Linked DNA regions of Homo sapiens: region 2 is linked to region 1. The links are contacts of gene promoters, found by promoter capture Hi-C in blood cells and fetal thymus (Javierre and others, 2016). All regions are on one chromosome and are shown on one strand. Each heading gives the region's core, a stretch centred on a gene start or on the middle of the fragment in contact. The rest is flanking DNA. Distances are from core to core; before and after follow the strand shown.

The links. The method cuts DNA at HindIII sites, captures the fragments that hold promoters and counts their contacts. A CHiCAGO score of 5 or more calls a contact.
Region 2: a fragment that was not itself captured here is called in contact with the fragment with the promoter of MON2-AS1 in region 1 in 4 of 17 cell types (M1 macrophages, endothelial precursors, erythroblasts and 1 more); the score reaches 7.0 in M1 macrophages.

The regions. Positions count from the first base shown.
Region 1 is chr12:62,483,192-62,486,822 of GRCh38, forward strand. It overlaps MON2-AS1 (MON2 antisense RNA 1), which reads right to left and starts at 1,751. Exons shown (of 2, transcript NR_186172.1): 1 at 1,578-1,751. MON2 (MON2 regulator of endosome-to-Golgi trafficking) reads left to right here. Exons shown (of 35, transcript NM_015026.3): 2 at 979-1,042. The HindIII fragment of the contact is 7,471 bases long and covers 1,259-3,631 here.
Region 2 is chr12:63,067,062-63,070,692 of GRCh38, forward strand. No RefSeq gene overlaps it. Among named protein-coding and RNA genes, the nearest start is that of AVPR1A, 82 kb to the right of the region's middle. The HindIII fragment of the contact is 750 bases long and covers 1,663-2,412 here.

The DNA of each region.
Region 1 (3,631 bases), core at 501-3,000:
TATATTTTACACTTAGAGCATAGCTCAATTCAGACTGGCCACATTTCAAGTGCTTAATAGCCACATGTAGCCAAATGGCTACCAAATTGGACAGTGCAGTTCTGTGGCATTCTGTAAAATACTATGTGACTTGCCAGTACTGCCCGCTAAACATACTACGGTTAATGAAGTGTTTGGTTATCCATTCTCAAAAAAGAAAACAAAGTAGCTTTTAAAATCCAACACAGGTCTGGGCACGGTGGCCCATGCCTGTAATCCTGGCACTTTGGGAGGCTGAGATGGGTGGATCACTTGAGGTCAGGAGTTCAAGACCAGCCTGGCCAACTAAAAATACAAAAAGTACAAAAATAAAACACTCTACTAAAAATACAAAAATTAGCCAGGCATGGTGGTGGGTGCCTGTAATCCCAGCTACTTGGGAGGCTGAGGCAGGAGAATGGCTTGAACCAGGGAGGCGGAGGTTGTAGTGAGCCAAGATCGTGCCATTGGACTCCAGCCTGGGCAACAAGAGCAAAAAACTCCATCAACAATAAATAAATAAATCCAACACAGTAGTTTTACTTGATTTTGCAGTGTTCTATAATTTTTTTGTGTGTGGTGGAGAGAGAGGAGGCTTGAAATGGGGAAAAGGAGCCTAATTATTTTCAGTAGATTTTGTTTTTGTTTGTTATTTTTATTCTCGGAAAATTTAACTTTGCAGGGGATTGAGGTATTCCAGATAATGCCTTAAGGCAGAGGAAGGCAACATGTTGTAGTGCATTCAGAGTTTGCATGTGAATAATCAAATTAATCATGTTTTATTACATTTAACGTATATGTCACTACTGGGCTTAGTATCTGATGGTTTGAAAATTAAAAAGGTGGTAGGGTAGTGACTGACTTTGTGCTTGATATTTTGTCTATCACATATGACTTATTTTCCATAGATAATTCATTTTGGCAGTAAATTTTGTGTTCTAATTATTTTTATTCTTGCAGGCTGCTGAATCAGGAATAATAAAAGTTAAAACAATTGCTGCACGAAACACTGAAATTTTGGCAGGTAATTTTTTGTATTAAAAATTTAATAATAAACAAAAATTTGACTAATAGTAAAAGTAGAATCTTTATTGTAAAAGCCATCAGTTTTCTGTAACATCTCTTCCTCATGCCCTAACATATGCTATTCATAATGAAACAGAATGGGCAAAAGTCCATAACTTATGAACTGACTGTATTTCCCAGAGACGAATGCTACAAAAATTCTCTGAAATCAGAAAGCTTAACACTACTGACTCCTTAAAGGCAAGGAATTTTTTCTTACTCATCTTCGCATTCTCCTCCACTTCCTGCTAATCACCTGAGACACACCATAAAAAGCATTCAGTAATATTTGTTCCATTGTATTGAATGAAAGATTTGTTCTCAGTCCACCTTCTGTGATCTACTTTCTCTTTAATATAATACGAACAGTTCATAACATAGTCTTCTGTATTTAGTTGTACCGTATGAATTTTGAGTCTTGGGATTAAGGCAGTATGATCATGAAAAAAGAATGAGAGTGAAGTAGAGAAAAGAAAACAAAAATGTTTTCTTACCTTCTCTTGATTGAACCTGATTTTCAAGGAGGAATTTTCAGGAGTTTCTCTTTGGCATCCTTCTTTTCTACCCAGTCCACTCCTTTCTCTTCCTTGGTGCCTTTTGTTCTTGCCTCAATAATGAACATGGAAAAGAGGTAAACTGGCTTTTTTTTTTTTTTTTTTTTAAGAATCTGTTATATGCAAGGCACTTGTGTCATTCTATCTTACATAACAACCTTGTGGGGAAATATTATCTTATTTGATAGTAGAGCTAATTGAGATGTGAAGAGGTTAAGTTACTTGCCCAAGGTCACAGGAAAGGTGATAGAACCAGATTAAAATCCAGGAGTGTTCAGGAGCCCATGTTCTTCCTGCTACAGTGTGCTACCATGGTATCACCAGGTTTCCACGTTAGCCACTTACTCCCAAGTATTACATATGTAACCAGTGCTTGCTTCAGTGATCCTTTAATCTGCATTTCCAGTTCCAGTAGTGCTGTTGATCTCAGCTAATCTATGAGGAAAGTAGTCCTATTAAATTAATTTACAGAGTCCAAATAGTAAATAATCTCTTTAACTTTCATATACTTTACATTTTTTAAAAGGGATACCAGTAAATCTGTAACTGGTGGGATTTCAGAGTGTTATGAAATGAAATTAAGATTTTTGGGGTCAGATTAAGGATCGGGGGCAAGAGTGGATTTCACTTAGGCTATCCAGCTTTGCTGGAAATTTGCCCTTAGCATAAGCGCTCCTCAATTACATCTGTTTCCCACAGCTTTTTCCCTGATTTTGAACAGTCTTATCAAAACACCCAATAGTTTTATAACATTATGCACAGAAGTAAATAATGCTCTGTGTGCATATTGAGAAGTGGTATAGTGAAAGTGGTGGGTAAAGGCAGAGGTGCACATGGTAGGGTTAGGAAGGCTGGCAAGTGGGTTTTTTTTGTTTGTCTGTTTGTTTTTCCTGAGATGGACTTTTGCTCTTGTTATCCCAGCTGGAGTGCAATGGTGTGGTCTCGGCTTACTGCAACCTCTGCCTCCTGGGTTCAAGCGATTCTCCTGCCTCAGCCACCCGAGTAGCTGAGATTTCAGGTGCCCAACACCACATCTGGCTAATTTTTGTATTTTTAGTAGAGACAGGGTTTCATCATGTTGGCTAGGCTGGTCTCGAACTCCTGACCTCGGGGTTCTCCCGCCTCGGCCTCTCCAAGTGTTGGGATTACAGGCGTGAGCCACTGCGCCCGGCCAGCATGTGGGTTTTAATGGGAGATGTACATTAGGCAGATTAGCTACTGTGGGGAAATTGGTGTTTAAAGAAAAATGATGACCTGGATATTTTTATGTTGGAGACTTACCATAGGCCAATCGTATTAGAATATCACTGTAAATATTTAAAATATTTACTGTTGCTAATATCATTGTTGATACCGTGGTAAGTCCTTAATTATTCTCCAATAATACAAATTTTTATTGGTTTTATAGTTTGTGGAAGACTTTTTTTAAAAAAAGACTGATTTCCTCAGAGGATCACTGTTATTCCAGCATTCTATCCCAAGTAAAATGTCTAATAAATTACTCTTAAGATGAGTAAGAAAAATTTTGACTTAGTCGGTATGATTTAAATATATAGGCAGGCTGTTAATTTCATTTTAATTCAATTTGCATTATTCAAATCAAGTTAGAACAGATCTGGTGCAAATACAATTAATAGTCATGTTTTAATCTTCGTAGTATCCAGAGCCCATATACTTGAGGAGGTATATTTGCACTTAAACTTTATCCTAGTATTTTTTCTGAAGTATTTAAAGCAATTATACCTAAAAGTTGTAGATTTATAGACCACTATCATCTTGAAAATCAGAGGCTCTTCAAAACAGAGTTTAAATTAGTCAGTATATAGTTTCTAAACTATATAATTAAGAGTACAGTTAATACTGAGAAAAATTTTTAGTTAACTTTTTAAAATTTCATGAGAAGTATTTACTTCTTTATGGTACTTGAGACTATAGGAGACTATACTACTTTTGTGCTCTAATGTATGTCAAAAATACCAAACAATTGAGGAGTC
Region 2 (3,631 bases), core at 788-3,287, 580 kb after region 1:
TCTGAGTTCCTTCTCCCTTCTGCTTTCAAGCCTGGGCTGACTGCCTCCTATTGATGAAATTTAACCCACTAATTGTGGAGGTTTAGGGTTTTTTTTTTTAGAGCCCAGTGGAAGCCCATAGGGAGGCGGGCTCACAGTAGCTGCCTTACTCCTTTCTTCCTTCATTTGTAGTGTGTCGAGACACATGACAGATGACATGTTCCCAGTACAGTGGATGTATGCATTATTTTATCTACTTTAACAAAAACAATCTTTTTCAATGGACCAGTGGCTTAAAAGGATTCCTACAAAGCAACTATAATACTAATAGTGCAAGCATAGCTGATCTGTGAGAAAATGGTAGCGCTGACACTTTTTTACTCGAACTTTTTTACTAGAACTTTTTCCTCCAAATTATGAAATTCAAAACAATGACAATCTAATCTTATATTAAAAAATTTAAAATTATTAAACACACTATTTGAAATATAGGGGAATGCACAGATTATAACATATTTCTCTGGAGTTACTTTTTCTAACTATTATACCCATTAAAACCAAGAGTCCGAGCATCCAAGTAAATTCAACAAAGATTTAGACCTTTAAATTACAGTAAGCCAAGAAAAAATAATAGGAAAACAAGAAAGGTGTTTTTGAGGCATTAAAAGAAGATACACAATTATATAAAATATTTTTATCACATCTTTAGCTCTTTTAAAATTCTATTCTTGTATGTTTCAAAATGTTCCTACTTATTTATAAGTAAATTATGAACATGGACATAAATGTTCAATCATACTGAAATCACAAAATATTATAATGCAGCAATCAAAAATATTTCTGTGCCATTATAAAGGAAATAAAATATATAATTATTTAAATACATTTAAATTTCATCTTCGTTTCATAATATCCATTTTCTATTTTCAGTCAATATTAACACATATACATATTTGTAATTTATAAAAAGTATCTGTATATTAGGGATGAGTGCTTGTGTGTTTCTGTTGCTGGAGTACAAAATCAACTTGTTTGAAGATCTATTCTAGTCCATGAAAATGCCTGGCTGTGGCCTAGAATATAATAGGTGGGTTTCTTTGATGTTGTTTAGGCTTCATTTAAATGCAAGTAGGCCTTTCTCCAGGTTGCAGTGGATGCCCACCATTGTGCTCGTGTGTGTGTGTGTGTGTGTGTGTGTGTGTGTGTGTGTGTGTGTGTGTGTGTGTTCTACAGAGTGTACAGGAAGGCTAAAAAAACCAGACAAATTCAATTTAGTTATTTGGTTAGCAAATTCAATTTTCTGATTAACTGTACTCAAGTCATGGTGAAGGGATAGAGAAGACACTGGATTGCTGCCTCAAAGGAGGTTACAATGTCACTGTCATTGGGCCAAAAGACATAAATAAGCACATGTGTGGTATAATAAAGATATAAAGTATCTTTATTATAAGTATGTGTTTAGTCTAGAGAAGGTAAATATATTGAAAGCTATGGGTCAGAAACTAGACTCAGGCTAGTTACACAGTGTTGTGTGTTGCTTTCCTAGTCTATGAAGATAATAACACCTCCCTATACACCTCACAGATCACTGCGAAATTAAAATAACTAAAAGTTGAGAACCTAATGTAACATATACAAATAACAGGAATTATATTTTAGCTTAGAAATCTACATTCTTTTAAAAGCTTTAGTTTGTTTTTTTTCTTTTTTCCTGCAAATGGAAATGATGATGGTTGGCTCCCTGTTTCAAATCTAGGCTTACTCTATTGGAGCTTTTGGAGACCTTAAATTTTAAGCTATTTCTATGTAAGATGGGGGGCAGTGAGGGATGTCTTCTACTCATGAGCTGAGCACATTAGGTTTCTTTTGAGAATTGTTATTCTTTTACTTCTTTAAAGATTGAGGGAAAACTCTCCTAATAATGCATGTTAATTAATTTATAACTCTTCTTGTTTTAGAAAAAGTTTTCAAAAGGAAAATACTGAATAAGCTGGGGTTTACTGACCTCTGATGGCCGGACTTAAAATTGCTACTTTTATCAGGCTTCTTAAGATGACAATGTAAAGCTCTTTCTGGAAACTGCCCAAGTCTAGGTTGTAAGGCAGTCAAGAATCACCAGACAAGAAGAGGGAGACCACAGGATGTCAACTAGTCAAACTTTCTTTTCTCAAGCAGGATTTATTTAGTTAATTTTAGGCTGAGGCTTTGTTAAATCGATGGTAATTTATTGAAAACACTTCAGTGTGTAAGTCAGAGTATTTCTGACCAGAAATCCCAACTCCATAAGTGGTTAATTAGCATTTAAAAGACTATCCAGAAATCCACACTAGAGAAATGGCTGACTACAGCATTTCAAATATTGCTATCTAAATCTGCAATAGAGTTTGTTAATTAGCATAGTGATATTTAACAGTATTTCTTTGGCGATCTGAAAGCTTCTGAGACATGTAGTTGGCTGGAAATATTGTACAGGCATCTTAGCTCTTACGTGAATAGGGTGTAAGAATCTGACAATAAATGTTTGTACATGGAGCAGAATTAAGTCTAAGCCTTGCTTTCATTATAGTGTACCTGGTAGCAAAGATATAAGGGAGGAGATAATAGCTCTCACCTACTTCTAATATTTGGAGGCGTCCAGAGTCACCAAAGAGAAACTGACTATGGTGAAGTGGTTAGATTGGCTTAGGTCAATTGTAACAAGCCATCCATCATGTTCCTAAAACTTTACAGAAGAAATGATTACAGAAGCTGATTTGTAGCATTTCCCTATGTTTTATACCTTATTTCATCAGCATATTCCTCCTAATTTTTACCCCAAATCACATGTGTTATAATTTAAGCATAGTTCCATTGAATACAGATAAGGAGAGAAATGAACTATCCCCAGCCAATATTATATTTTTCTGGTAGAATTAGCTTAAAAAATACATCCATGGCCAAAGACACTTGAATAGTAGTTAAGAAGATGACATTGCTTTTGCATGGCTAAATATAGCTGGGAAGTTGTTCAGATGTCCTAGGGGACACTACTGTTAGCCTAAACTGCAGTCGTCATTTTGGTACACAAGAAGCTTGTACTATGTCTGTCACTGTTCTGTCAATTTACTAGAAGGGAAATAGCAATAATAAACTTGACATTATTTTATAAAAAAATTTGTTTCATATAAATAAGTACATACTTAAAACTGGATTTATATCATATTTTCAAAAAAAATAGACTCATACTGCTTTGAAACCAGGGTCCAGTACTAACAAGTTGATCTTGAAGGCCTTTTAAGATTAGATCTCAAGGGATCTCATGACCTCACCTCCACGCCTTTCCCCTAATTTTGTCTTCTCTGCCTTAGCCTCCCTAATTTAACTTAGCAAAGTCACATGAGGTTCTTACAATGTCTTCAAGCGAGGCAGGAGTAACCACAGCAAAGAGAGGAGAGACCACTTCTGTTGCCATGCCAAGCTGCTTTTGAGGAAGCCCCCAGTAATCCCCACCTCCTGGTATTTACACCCTCTCCTTGTGTGTGGGCTGGGCCTAGTGACTCACTTATAATAAATAAAATATGGAAAAAGTGATGGAATGTCATTTCTGAGATTAGGTTAAAAAGAGATTGTGACTTCTGTCTTGGACATCCTCTCTGGCTCTTTCGCTCCCTTG